5 separate regions of the Homo sapiens genome follow, and all the other regions are linked to region 1. The links are contacts of gene promoters, found by promoter capture Hi-C in blood cells and fetal thymus (Javierre and others, 2016). All regions are on one chromosome and are shown on one strand. The core of a region is centred on a gene start or on the middle of the fragment in contact, and the rest is flanking DNA. Distances in the headings are between cores, read along the strand shown.

The links. Contacts are between HindIII fragments. The CHiCAGO score rates a contact against its expected background, and 5 or more counts as called.
Region 2: a fragment that was not itself captured here is called in contact with the fragment with the promoter of CLCN5 in region 1 in 3 of 17 cell types (endothelial precursors, total B cells and M2 macrophages); the score reaches 7.6 in endothelial precursors.
Region 3: a contact is called between a fragment that was not itself captured here and the fragment with the promoter of CLCN5 in region 1, in 1 of 17 cell types (naive B cells). The highest score is 5.2, in naive B cells.
Region 4: the fragment with the promoter of FOXP3 here is called in contact with the fragment with the promoter of CLCN5 in region 1 in 3 of 17 cell types (activated CD4 T cells, monocytes and fetal thymus); the score reaches 7.2 in activated CD4 T cells.
Region 5: a fragment that was not itself captured here is called in contact with the fragment with the promoter of CLCN5 in region 1 in 10 of 17 cell types (total B cells, naive B cells, total CD4 T cells and 7 more); the score reaches 12.6 in total B cells.

Annotation. Positions count from the first base shown.
Region 1 is chrX:49,921,274-49,923,973 of GRCh38, forward strand. It overlaps CLCN5 (chloride voltage-gated channel 5), which reads left to right and starts at 1,323. Exons shown (of 15, transcript NM_001127898.4): 1 at 1,323-1,519; 2 at 2,134-2,209. RefSeq lists a silencer at 1,585-1,634. The HindIII fragment of the contact is 4,286 bases long and covers 1-2,086 here.
Region 2 is chrX:50,680,558-50,683,257 of GRCh38, forward strand. All of the region lies in intron 2 of SHROOM4 (shroom family member 4), which reads right to left. Among named protein-coding and RNA genes, the nearest start is that of SHROOM4, 130 kb to the right of the region's middle. The HindIII fragment of the contact is 1,192 bases long and covers 852-2,043 here.
Region 3 is chrX:50,533,024-50,535,723 of GRCh38, forward strand. No RefSeq gene overlaps it. Among named protein-coding and RNA genes, the nearest start is that of DGKK, 64 kb to the left of the region's middle. The HindIII fragment of the contact is 771 bases long and covers 881-1,651 here.
Region 4 is chrX:49,263,287-49,265,986 of GRCh38, forward strand. It overlaps FOXP3 (forkhead box P3), which reads right to left and starts at 1,424. Exons shown (of 12, transcript NM_014009.4): 1 at 1,375-1,424. The HindIII fragment of the contact is 2,410 bases long and covers 298-2,700 here.
Region 5 is chrX:50,563,484-50,566,247 of GRCh38, forward strand. No RefSeq gene overlaps it. Among named protein-coding and RNA genes, the nearest start is that of DGKK, 94 kb to the left of the region's middle. The HindIII fragment of the contact is 721 bases long and covers 1,029-1,749 here.

The DNA of each region.
Region 1 (2,700 bases), core at 73-2,572:
TTCCAACCCAGGTGCAGAGCTTCAGATAAGGGGTATCTGGACACAACATTCCACATCTATCTTTATTTTGTGGTTCCCAAGGAAACACAACTCTGGGTTCACTTTGCAGTTCAGACCTGATGGTGACCCCAAATGACAGTACTGCTTTGCTTTGAGCTTACCAAAAACACTGCTTTGTTTAAAATTCACCTAAACTCCACTCTTCTCTCCAATCCTATAATGACTCCATGTTTTTCTGTTTGATGAAATGCCTACCGTGTGCAGTCTCTCATATTGCAATGGGTCAAAGCCTGACTATGTCGGATTACAAATTTGTCCCCGGTAGCCTTATGCTGATTGGGCTAGGATAGGGGTTTTTAAATCCCTGACCACTTAGCTTGTCCAAAGTAGGCATTCCAAATTGTTCACTGCAGTAGAGTACCCTGGTTCTAGTTAGATTACTTGGATTATATGGATTCCAGTCTCAGGTCTGCCAAGAACTAATTAGCTGGATCATCTTAAGTGAGTCAGTGCACCCCATTTGGCCTAAGTTTTCTCTTCTGCAAAACGGTGTGCTGTTTCTTTCAAACCTAGGGTAAGGGCTTTGGAGTAAGTTAGACCTAGGTTGGATTCCCAGTTCTACCACGTACTAGTCCTGTGACTTCAGCTTTTCTGAGCCTCTGTTTTGTAATGATTAATATGGAGATAATACAGTACTAACAACTGCAGTATAGTTTTTGCAGCGTTGCTGGAAACATCAAGTTGGCTGTTAAAAGTATCACTACGTTTGATCACTATTCCTATTCCTACTATTATATGAGTTTAGACAAGTTACTTAACCTTTCTGTGCCTGTGTATTTTTATGAGTAAAAATGGAGAAATAACCCTCGGGGTTATTGTGAACACCAAATGAGACGAAAAAAGTAAAGGGGTTAGGAGAGTGCCTGGCACATAAGAAGCAGCTCAAATTATGTGATCTAATGTTATTAGTATTAGATTTCTACTACTAATTACTCTGTGGGCCGAAAGCTCAGGATAGACAGTTTCATTCTAAGGACAAACCTTCTCCCCAGCAAAAAAAGGCACTGCAAGCTGGAAATAGTGAAACACAATGGGGCATTGCGTTTTCAAAGGCAACTGACACGCCCAGCACTGGGATAGGACCCGCCCGCCCAGTCCTCATTAAATATGGCAGCGAGCGGGGCCGACGTACTGCGGCTGCGCAAGTTGAAACTCCTCCTGGCAGCTCCTCCCCGGCGGGCCTCCCCTCATCTCGGCTGGGTAGAGGTGCCGGGTGTGAGCTCGGCGTGGCGCGCACGCGCAGACGCTGGCTGGGCTGAGCCGATACTCGCGAGGCGCCCTGTCACATGAGCCGCGCGCCCGCTTCGCTCCCCCTCCTCCCCGGCTGGGCTGTGTGAATGAAGCTCTGCCGGCTACGTGGGGCGCTCACTCAACTTGGTGTCCTGGACGCCAGAGCCGACCGAGCGCGCTGCCCACCGGCGGCGGACACGGGCTCCGCCGCTCCGGACCTCGGCGACAGGTAAAGGCAAACGGGCTGTCCCTTCCCCAACAGGTCCTTGGCGGGCCGCTGGCCCCCGGCCCACCCCCGGAGCACCCCCTAAGCGCAGCGACACAGGGGAAGCGCAATCCCGCTGGCTTGGACCCCCGGAGATGGGGCTTCCCCGCGCCCGGCGTTGGCAGCCCGGCGCTTAGAGGAGGTAGACAGGCTAGTTCCAGCCAGTGCTGAGCGGCGTCTTCCCGGGAGCCCAGCCCTGTTCTCCGAGTTATGGTCCCTGGGTTGCCCGAGCGAAGTTTCCTTGCGGAGCGGCGCCAAGCCCGCCCCGCTTTTGAATCGGAGTGTTTAGCCGCCTGCGTCCCCTTTCCCGGACTGGGGTAGGGTGACTTAGGCTGGCAAAGCTCAGCCGAGGCCCGGCTCTTCTCCCTCCGGCTCTGGACTTGCCGCTGGTTTTGTATGGGTCTTAGCAAAGTGGAGAAACTCTCGGAAAAGTAGTTGCTGCGCTGTTTTCCTTTTGCCACTTAACGCGCGTAGCTGGTTCTCTCCAGACTTTCGAGCCTTGCTCTTGAGCGCCTTGATCCACACGGGAAAAGCTTTGCCTTTACATTGACGCACGTTTCCTTTGATTAACATTTCAGAGCAAATCAGTTGCCTGGAGTTCCCAGTGAAGTTGTACCTGTGCCCGTGCGATAACGTCAGTGGAAGCTGCCCCGAGTAAGTGAGGGAAATCTAGAAGTTTGGAGCATAAAAAACCAGCACGAATCAACTTTACATAAACTTCATACATTTATTAGCAACTGCTCGGGTTTAACTTCAGGGATGTTAAATTTCGCCTAGTCCCACGGGACGATGATCATTACTTCTTAACTGCACGCGAAATAGGAGAAGAAAAAAGGCAAATCAAAACAGACTGTCCCAGGTCTCAGAGAAGTCATCGGAGCGCTTTTTCCTGCTGAATTCACCCTAGGAGTTTGTGAGTTCCTAGTTTTCTTGGACTTCGCGAACTTTTCCTTGTCCAAAGCACTGTCTTTTCTCTGTTGGTGTTTTGGGACTGGTGTACACATTAACCCTTTTGTCATTAAAGAAGGCCAACACGATTCTCAAGCTAGTATTAGCCTTCAGTGTTTGTGCTTTAGCACTTTCACTTAGGAGGTGGAGGTGTTGGTTGTATAAAAGATATGGAAATAACAATCTACTTTGATGTT
Region 2 (2,700 bases), core at 198-2,697, 760 kb after region 1:
GTTTCAGACCTCATGCCCCTTTACCTCTAAATACTTCAGTTTGTCTTTCCTAAGGAGAGAAATTATCTTATACAATTACAGTACTATTATCAAATTCAGGAATTTTTATATTAATACCATTTTATAATATACTTAACCCATTAATGTTCTCACCTGGTGTCAAAGCTTTATCAGAGGGTGACTCCAAAATTTAAATATTTAACCTTGACCTATTTTCTCAATTCTAGACTCTTCTACCTAATTTCTTAGTTAACATTAGCATGTAGCTGTCCAATAGACATGTCATTACATTTACAAAGTTAATGTGTATAAAACCAAGCTACTTCTTTCCTACTTCTTCCCGTTACCCATAAAACTTGTTTCTCCTCCAGTCTTTCTCGCCTCAGTAAATGGTACCACCCAGTTATTCAGGTCAAAACCCAAGGAAGCATTTAGTCCTTGCCTACCCATTCCCTACCACAGCCCTGCCCAATTCACACTTGATCCATCAGCAAGTCCTCCAAAACAAATCCTAAATCTAACAACTTTTTACCATCTCCATCACTAAAATCCAAATCCGACTCATTACCATCTCTTGCTTGAATTATTCCAAGTAGCCTCCTAACAAGTTTTCCTGCTTCCTCTCTGCCCCCTACAGTCTGTTTCCCATACAGCAGCCACGGTGATCATCTATCAATCCAAAACTAATCATACCACTGTTCTGCTTAGAACTCTCTAACAGCTTCCTTCTGCAAATAGAATACATTTGTACACATTTGAACTTCTTACCAGAGCCTACAAGGCCCTGTGTGATTATATGCCTGGCTTCCTCTCCTTTCATGCTTCCTTTGCTTACCACACTCCAGTTTTAAAGCTTTCTTTCTGACCCTTGAATACATCATGTATTTTTCCATTTAAGAGCTCTTGTACTTGATATTCTTCTGGCTGGAATGCTCTTCTCCCCAGATCTTTATATGGCTGCCTCTTTCTTATCATTTAACTCTTGGTTCAAATATCTTCATAGTGGTCTTCCCTGAATGAGCTAAAGTCTCCCCTGCCCCTGCTGCTCCTACCACACCCACATTTAGTCATTTTATATGCCTTTGCATTGCTTTATTTTCCTTTATAGCACTTACCAGTAATGGATATAACATGTTTGCGTATTTGTGATTATTGTCTACTTCTCCCATTCCTGTTAGAATATCAGCTCCATGAGGGAAAAGGCTATTTTGTTCACTGATATACCCCCAGTTCCTAAAATAGTACCCGACACAGACCATGGCTCTAGTAAATATTTGTTAGATGAATGAATGAATGGTTCCCCTCTTTGCATTTAGCTCACATATGTCCCCCAGAATCTGGTCCCTGATCGTCTTCTTTTCCTCCCTACATTACTGTTTCTGGAAGATCCCATCCATCCCAATGGCTTCAATTACTATCGACCCAAATAACTTTCAATTTAATTATTGAGTCATTTTTTTCTTTGTGTACCCAAGAACCATAGTTACAACTGTCTACTCGTCCTTTATATTTGGACGTCTTACAGATGCTTCAAATTCCACATGTCTAAAACTAGCTCATTATTTTGTTTCTTTTTGATATAAAGCATATAAAGTACCTAGTCAAATGCTCAGTGTCTAAGAGGCACTCAATAAATGCTAGTTCTTATAAATAGCATTTGTAACTAGTATCTTTTAACTCAATCCAATTTGGCAAGAAACCTTGCACTCATCTTTGACTCTATCTCTTTCCTTTGCTGAATCCACTATCTCAGCTTTCAAGTATTTGGATGCCTGACAACCCAATACCCCTAAAAGTCTCAGCCTCTAATCCTCACTGCAATAACCCTTACTGCCCTTGCCTGGCATACATTCATTCCATTCAATTAGCTATTCAATGAGTATCGAGCATGTAACCCTGCTAAGCACTATGATCACTATACTTAAGATAGGAGGAAAAACAACACATGGACACTGCCCAAAATTTACAGGGGGGAAATAGACAAGTAAACAGGCTGTTACGATTCTAGATAGAGGAAATTAAAGGGTGTTGTTTATGGGAGGAAGCTTAATACAGTCTGGGGATATCAACCCTAACACTTCTTAGAAGTGATAAAGCTTAGGTCAAGTCTTGAGTGTTGAATAAGAGTTAGCTAAACAAAGAAGAGGAAGGAGCAGTCATCATTTTGGGAAGAAGGAGCAGAATGTGAAAAGGCACAGAGATATGAGAGAATATGTTGTAGCTGGATGTGATGGTTAATACTGAGTGTCAACTTGATTGGATTGAAGGATACAAAGTATTGATCCTGGGTGTGTCTGTGTGGGTGTTGCCAAAAGAAATTAACATTTGAGTCAGTGGGCTGGGGAAGGCAGAACCACCCTTCATCTGGTGGGCACAATCTAATCAGCTGCCAGCAAATATAAAGCAGGCAGAAAAATGTGAGAAGCAGAGACTGGCCTAGCCTCCCAGCCTACATCTTTCTGCCATGCTGGATGCTTCCTGCCCTCGAACATCAGACTCCAATTTCTTCAGCTTTGGGACTCAGACTGGCTCTCCTTGCTCCTCAGCTTGCAGATGGCCTATTGTGAGACCTTGTGATCATGTAAGTTAATACTTAATAAGCTCCCCTTTATATATATGTGTGTGTGCATATATATATCCTATTAGTTCTGTCCCTCTAGAGAACTCTGACGAATACATTGGAGAAATATAAGCAGTTGA
Region 3 (2,700 bases), core at 16-2,515, 610 kb after region 1:
TTGGGGGATTGGAACATGGGGAAGAGTTGGGGTGGAGAAGTTGCAGGAATGGCAGAATAAATGAACTAAGTCATGAAAGAAGAGAAGTTCAACCAATGGCCAAGGAGAAGAAATGTATAAAACAGAGGAAGAAGAGCACTTGTAAAGGCATGAGGATATGAGAAAGTAAGGCACTCAATATGGCTAGAACTTAAGAGTGTACAGGAAAAAGAGGGGGAAGATGTGGCCTAAACAAAGGCCATAATTCTATAAGAGCTATATACTACCTACTATGTAGTTCTGTATTTGAATTGAAGGGTTTTAAGTAGGATAGTGATATAGTTTAGATCCGCGTTCCCACTCCCCGCCCAAATTTCATATCAATTGTAATCCCCAATGTTGGAGGTAGGGCTTTGGGGGAGGTGATTTGATCATGGGGGTGGCTACTTATGAATGGTTTAGCACCATCTCCCTTGGTGCTGTGTTGAAATAGTGAGTGATTTCTTGTGAGATCTGGTTGTTTAACAGTATGTAGCACCTCCCCTCTCTCTCTTTTCCTCCTGCGTTAGCCATGTGAGATGCCTCGCTCCCCCTTTGCCTTCCATCATGATTGGAAGCATCCTGAAGCCCCCCCAGAAGCAGAAGCTGCTATACTTCCTGTATACTCTGTAGAACCATGAGCTAATTAAACTTCTTTTCTTTATAAATTATTCAGTCTTAGGTATTTCTTTATAGCAATGAGAGAATGGACTAATGCAGACAGTAACATGGTTACATTTACATTTTAGAAAGTTTACTCTTACAGACAATGTGGAGAATGGATTGGAGATGGCAAGAGTAGAGAGAGGAGATTTACCCAGAAAAGAGGTGATGGGAATCTGAAGTAATGTAGTGGTTTGGAAGCTTAGAATATAGGACAGAGTGGAAGAGTGACATGAAGGAGAGTACCGGAAACAGAGAGACCAGATAATATTAGGGATGAAATAGGATTGGTCAATTTTGTGACTCTAGCAAAAGTGCTATCAGGTAGTATTGAGACTGAAACCAGATTTCAGTGGGGGAAGTGAGGAAGTAGAGACAGAATAGGCAAATATTTACAGACATTTGGAATAAAGAGTAACAGGATGATGTTTATGAGGAACAACATGGGTGAAGTTGACTCTTGTTAATTTAATATTGTTCTTTAGCAGATGAGAGCTTAGGGTGTATATTTACTGAGAGGAAAAAGTCCACGGGAACAGATAAGTTGACTTTACAGGAGAAAGACGGGATAGTTGCTGGAGAGGGACCCTAAGGAGATAGAAGGCGAAGATAAAATGGAACTCAAGAGGAGAGTGGTGCAGTCGTTGCTCACTCTCAGACTACAGTAGTGATGAGGGTGATCTTGAAATCAAATAGGCCTAGATTCAAATCTCAGCGCTGCCATTTGCTATCTGGGTAAACCTGACAAGCACTTAATCACTCCAAATATCCATTTTCTCAGTTACAAATTGAGGATAACTAAACCTTTCTCACAATGTAGTTGTAAGGATTACATGAAAGAGTAAATGATAAAAATGGTAGTTATTACTACCAATGAGAACAGGATGGGGGTAAGCTAGAGATAAATTTGGCAGTAGAAGGCCAAGAATGGAAAGATATTCCAACCGAAGTCCTCTAAATTTCTCAAAAAAGCTTAGCTGATAAAAATTCAAGCAATGGGGGTGGTTAAAGGGTTGAAGGAAAGTGTTAAAAACTTGGAATCTGCTAAGAGGAAGGAGAGAGTGAGGTTTGAGAAAAAAAAGATTGCTGATCAGCATCAAGGGCCTTGACTTTATTCCTGTCCTTCAGTCTCTTCCCCTCGAATCCATCTTGCACAGTAGCACTTGATTAATATTCTCAAAAGGATACATTCATCATGTCACTCCAATACATGTCTACTAAATAAAGTTCATGCTTCTCTGTTTGGCATTTCACGCCATCTGCATTCAGATGTCTTCCTGCTATGGAAGCTTCTGCAAGCCCACAAACCAGCTAGAATATTTACAGTTCCCCATATTTGTCTTTTGTTTCCAATTCTGAACCTTGTTTGTGTTATTCCCTGTACTCTCAACTGAAGTTCATTTCAACAGTTTATACTGTGCAAGCTTCAGGGTCCTGAAGAGCTGGGTTCCAATATGAACTCTTCCACTAACCAGCCATATGATCTTAGGCAAGGGATTTTGCTTCTCTGTGCCTTAGTTTCCTTGTGTATACAATAGGGTGTCTTAGTCCATTTTGTACTGGTATAACATAATACTTGAGACTAGGGAATTTATAATGAACAGAAATTTATTTCCTCACAGTTCTGGAGGCTGGGAAGTCCAAGACCAAGGAGCTGGCATCTTATGAGAACCTTCTCGCTGCCTCATCCCATGGTGGAAGGTGGAAGAGGAAAAGAGGGCGAGAGAGAGAGAGGCAAAAGGGGGTTGTACTCATCCTTTTGTAACAAATCCACTACCACGGTAGTGGCATTAATCTATTTATGAAGGCAGTACCCTCATGGCCTAATCATCTCTGAAAGGTCCCATCCGCCAATACCATCACAATGGCAATTAAATTTCAACATGAGTTTTTGAGGGGACAAACCATATCCAAACCATAGTATAGAGATAATAATAGAAATCACGTAGTGGTATTGACAGGATTGCCTTAACAGATGTAAAAAAAAAAGAGAAAGCAATAGTAGATCACCCTGCACAT
Region 4 (2,700 bases), core at 174-2,673, 660 kb before region 1:
TAAAACATAATAATACTCACCTAGGGTTAGCTTAAGTAGAGGGAGCATAAAATAGGACAACCTTTTGGAAGGAGAATTAGCAGAGAGGGTCATAAACTTTAAAAATGCACGCCCCCTTTGCCCCAGCAACTCCCTTTTCAGGAATCCAAGGAAGCAGTCAGGGATGTTTATAGAAAAAAACGAGAAACAACCGGAATGTCCAACAATCGGCACTTGGTCAAATCAATCAAAGTTCATGCTGATGTGAGGACAGTCTTGTCCATCATGAAAGATCATGTGTTCAAACAATTTTTAGTAAGCTTCAAAAACACTACTGTTAATTGAATAAAGCAGGAACAAAACCAATATATAGCATGATTCTAATTTGGTTACAGAAATACTAATAGCTAACACTTCGTGAGCACTTACTTTGTGCCAAACGCTGTGCTAAGCCTGCAGAATCGAGCTCACCCCAGCCCTGAACAACCTGTTTGCTTCCTGAATATGGACTCTGGTCACACACATGCAGTCCTGGGGTAGGTCCACACAGCTAAACTACGGTTGACAATGGTGTGAAGTGCTCCCTGCCCCCCCGCCCCAAGGGTCTCCTCTAAAGCGATACAAGCAAAGTTCAGTTAAGTGCTCAGCTTGCCCCGGCACCTTGCAATCCTCCTGCTACTAGGGTGAACAGAACTGATGCTCACTCTCATAAAATGTAAAGGTCCTCGGCGACATTACTATTATTAAACGCCAGCTGTGTACAAAGCTCTAGGCTGGATGCTGGCTGGGAAGGCAGGTGGGGGAAGGCAAGAAAAGAGAGCGGGAGAGATGGAGGAAAGGAGATCGATGGAGTGTGGTCAAGATGGAGGAGACAGAGATAGGGGAGATGGTCAGAGGCCAGGAGAGATGCGGGGAAAGAGAGTCTGAGTGTAGCGACAGACAGATGGCGGGAGAAAGAGAGGCAGAGAAACATGTAAAAGAGCAAGACAGGGTGAGCAGAGAGACAGAGAAGGATGAGAGGCATCAAGAGCTAAGAGACAAAGAGATGAGAGAGATGCAGTTGAAATTTTCAGTTGCACCTGGACAGCATTTCAAGTTGTTCAAAGCTCTGAAATCCATAAAGACTGGCAGCTGACATATTTTAAAAATCCTATCCATCTACGTATCAATTGATGAATTCATTTATTTTTGCCCCTGCCCATGCATTAAGTACTTCACCTTTAAGTCTTCTGCCATTTATTCTATTATTTTTTTAAAGACCTTACCTGGCTGGAATCACGGTAGCTGGGTACATCCCACTGTACCAGAGGGCCCCTGACCCCCCCGCCGTGCCTACCTCCCTGCCATCTCCTCCAATGGGGCCCACATCTGGTAGGGGAGAGCAGGGACACTCACCTTGGTGAAGTGGACTGACAGAAAAGGATCAGCCTGGCTTGTGGGAAACTGTCACGTATCAAAAACAACTTTGCTTTTATACCGAGAAGAAAAACCACGCTGTACGGTGTGGAAGCCGCAGACCTCTCTCTTCTAATAATCCAAATTTTTTTCGATGAGTGTGTGCGCTGATAATCACGGGGTGGGGAGGGGTTCTCATAGTTTTTTTTTTCTCTCTCTCTGTGTTTCTCCTTTTCTTGATTATGAGACTTAAACGGAAATTTTGAAATTTTGGGTTTTTTTCTTTGCCCTTTACGAGTCATCTGAAAATATGATTTCTTCCCCTCACCACAGAGGTGAGAGGTATCAATGAGATAATAGGGCTCATGAGAAACCACAGTTTTTAAAACAAAAGTGTATAGAGTTTGAAAAAAAAAAAACAAGGGAAAAGAACTAAAATAAATCACAGGGCCAACCCGAGGCAGGCAGAGACACCATTCTGTGAGTGAGAGGATATTTGAGGGTCTCTGGGGAAAGAAAGAGAATCTGAAGCTCTATGTGTGGATGGGAAATGCCAGGGAAAGAGACAGAATAGGGCTGGGTTCCCAGAGGCCTCGCCCTACTCCAGGCCTCAGTTTCCCTATAGATGGAATTGATATGGTCCCCATTGCTTGAACTACCCGGCGAGGGGAGTTCTGCACCCCCTGCAACACCCCTCCCACAGAGGGTGAGGGGCATGTAAGTTACTTCATGGAGGAGAAAGCGGAGAGCCCACTGTCATCCCCTAAAATTCATGGACTTGAAGAGTCGGAGAATCCCTGGCTCCCAGAATCTACTGACAGTTACTGAATGAGGAAAGAGAGAAAAGTCTCGCCTCATCACGTTTTAGGGCTTGAGTGCCCTGACCCAGCCACTGTCCCACTGGGAAGGTCCCTAGCAGGTCCCCAATATTAATGCATCCATCCTCACGATGAACCCCAGAGGCCCATTGGGACCCTGACCCTCTTGTTTCAGGAACATCATGGCCTGATGCTTCTGAGGCCCTCAGCCTTTGGGGTCTTTTACTTCAAAAAGCCCCAGTTTCCAAGGATTTAGGATTCCAAATATCCGCCATCATCTCAGTAGCTGATGTTTATCTTGAATTTTCCATGGGTCAGATACAGTGCTGAACATGTCTCACAAGTGATCATGTTCAATCCTCACCATGGCCCCTTGAGCTCCATCTCATCATTATTGTATTCCTGTTATACAGATGAGGGAAACGGAGGTATAAGTAGTCAAGCAACTTGCCCAAGATCACAGAGCTGGCGAGTGTGGGTCCCGCTTTCTTTGGTGCTGGGCTTTGAA
Region 5 (2,764 bases), core at 139-2,638, 640 kb after region 1:
AACGAGTGGATAAAGAAACTGTGATATATATATATATATACACACAATGGAATACTATGCAGCCGTAAAAAGGAATGAATTAACAGCATTTTCAGTGACCTGGATGAGATTGAAGACTATTATTCTAAGTGATGTAACTCAGAAATGTAAAACTAAACTTGTATGTTCTTACTGATATGTGGGAGCTGAGCTATGACGACACAAAGGCATAAGAATGATACAATGGACTTTGGGGACTTGGGGGGAAGAGTGGGAAGGGGGTGAGGGATGAAAGACTACAAATATGGTGCAGTGTATATATGGGTAATGGGTGCACCAAAATCTCACAAATCCCACTGAAGAACTTACTCGGCCAGGCGTGGTGGCTCACACCTGTAATCCCAGCACTTTGGGAGGCCGAGGAGGCCAGATCACCTGAGCTCAGGAGTTCAAGAGCAGCCTGGCCAACTTGGTGAAACCCTCTCTCTACTAAAAATATTTTTAAAAAATTAGCTGGGCATGGTTGTGGGCACCTGTAATCCCAGCTACTTGGGAGGCTAAGGCAGGAGAATCACTTGAACCTGGGAGTTGGAGGTTGCAGTGAGCCAAGATCGCACCACTTGCACTCCAGCCTGGGTGACAGAGTAAGATTCCATCTCAAAAAAAAAAAAAAAAAAAAAAAAAAAAGACTTACTCATGTAACCAAATACCCTGTGTACCCCAATAACTTATGGAAAAATAAAAAAGAAAAGTTATCCATACATATATTTACTATTAAATATATCATATATGTCCAGGAGGTGGTTGGGAAACTCTAGTACCCATCAGAACTTGTTAAAACAAAGATTGCTACACTCCCTGCCCCAGGGTATGTGGTTCAGTATGTCTAGGGTGAGGTCTAAAATTTGCATTTTAACAAATTTCTAGGCTTCTGGTAGGGGACCACACTTTGAAAACCACTGATTTGAGAGATTAAAAGAAAAACTTTAAGTTTCTTTTTACTTGAAATAAGCCTGAAAAATCATCTAGTTAAATTTCTGTTTGTTACAAGCTTTAAAGAGCAGCTAGTTAGATCTTAAATAAGTATAAATATGAAGAGCATATAGTTAAATGTTAAGGCCTTGGTAGGCTAAATGGTATCTCCAATATTTCACATATAGGTAACAACAAATTGAGAGCTAGGACTCCTTGTTCACTCATACATTTTGTTGAATTGTCTCCATTGGTCTGGAGAATGTCTCCTTTTAATGTATCAACTGTTTTTGGCATGATGGCTATGTACTGTTGATGTATGTAGGTTTAAAAAAATGAGATCTGGGAGTTTAAATGCAAGTACTCAACACAGTATCCTGAGTAATTAGAACTGTGTCTATTGCAAAAAGGCTGATCAATAAATACTTAACAAAATGAAAAAAAATCCTTACAATGACTTACAAGTGCCTGCATGGTTTGTTCCCTCGTTAGCTCTACAACATCATATCCTACGACTTTTCCTCATGCTCACTCTGTTCCAGCCACACTGTTATGTCTGCCTGGAAAAATCTTCCCCAAAACATTCAAATAATTTACTCCCTTACCTCCTTCAGGTCTTAATTCAAATTATGTCCCTTTTCAGTGAGATCTTCCCTCACTACCCTATTTAAAATTAAAGTTATCCATACTCCTTATGCCTCTTCCTCATTTCATTTTTCTTATAGTACTCATCAACATCTAATACACCACATTTATTTCATTAATTTGTTTATAGTCTTTCTCTCCCTCTGCAATATAAGCTTCATGAGGGCAAGATTTTTGTCTTTTAAAAAAAGCACTGGATATCCCCAGCACCTAGCACAGGGTCTGGCATTGGTAGATGCTTAAAATTTTTTGTTAAACAAATGTTCTTAAAAAATGCTCATGGCTCAGAAAAACATTCCTTTCCCTAGCTGGCTCTCAGTTTCGCCTATTGATAGCATAAGGGAGTTGGATTGGGTGATCTTTCAGGTCTCTTGTATCTCTAGGACTAAATCTAGAGATCGGGTGAAAAGTACAATCTTGGGAGCCAGATTTCTTGGGCTTCTCCTCCTGCTGCCTTGAGACAGGTCACTTCACCTCTCTGGGCCTCCAGTTTTTGTATCTGAAAAGTAAAGATGATAAAAATAGACCCTGTCTCAAAGGGTTGCTGTGGAGATTAAATAAGATCATCCATATATAAGCACTTTAACACAGTGCATAGTGTTTAATAAACATTAACTATTGCTTTTAGGGTGATCATTAGCAAGTAGCCACATTACCAGCCTTGCTTAGGCTCATAATCAGCTTCAGTTGCTGATGGTATGAAAAAAAAAAAAAGCAAAACAACTTCCATAACAACAAATTCACCTGAGGTTCATATGCAGCTCATATGCGACTCATATGCATACAGCTGGCCTTTCCCCCTTCCTCCACCCCATTACTAAGACAGAAGAACAGCCTGTTCTCTTGTAACCTGATGTCCCTGGATAAGCGGGAGGGGGAGAGAGGCAACGTGTGATTGCCATGGCCACCCGCTGCATTTCAAGTTCCACAGAGAAGCAGGGTATGGGGGCTTATTCACAATCACCCACAAACCTGGCCATGGGTGCCTTCAACCAGAGTGTGTAGAATACATGTTGTTCCAGTGGCAGAGGCCCATCACAGATGTTCTACTAGGAGGGCAAAGGATGATGTTCAAAGCCATCAGCAGCATACGTGATTCAGACAGCTGGCCAGGTCTTTGGGGCCAGAGATGCGTGGGCTTGCCAGAGTAAGGCAGGATGTGGATAGG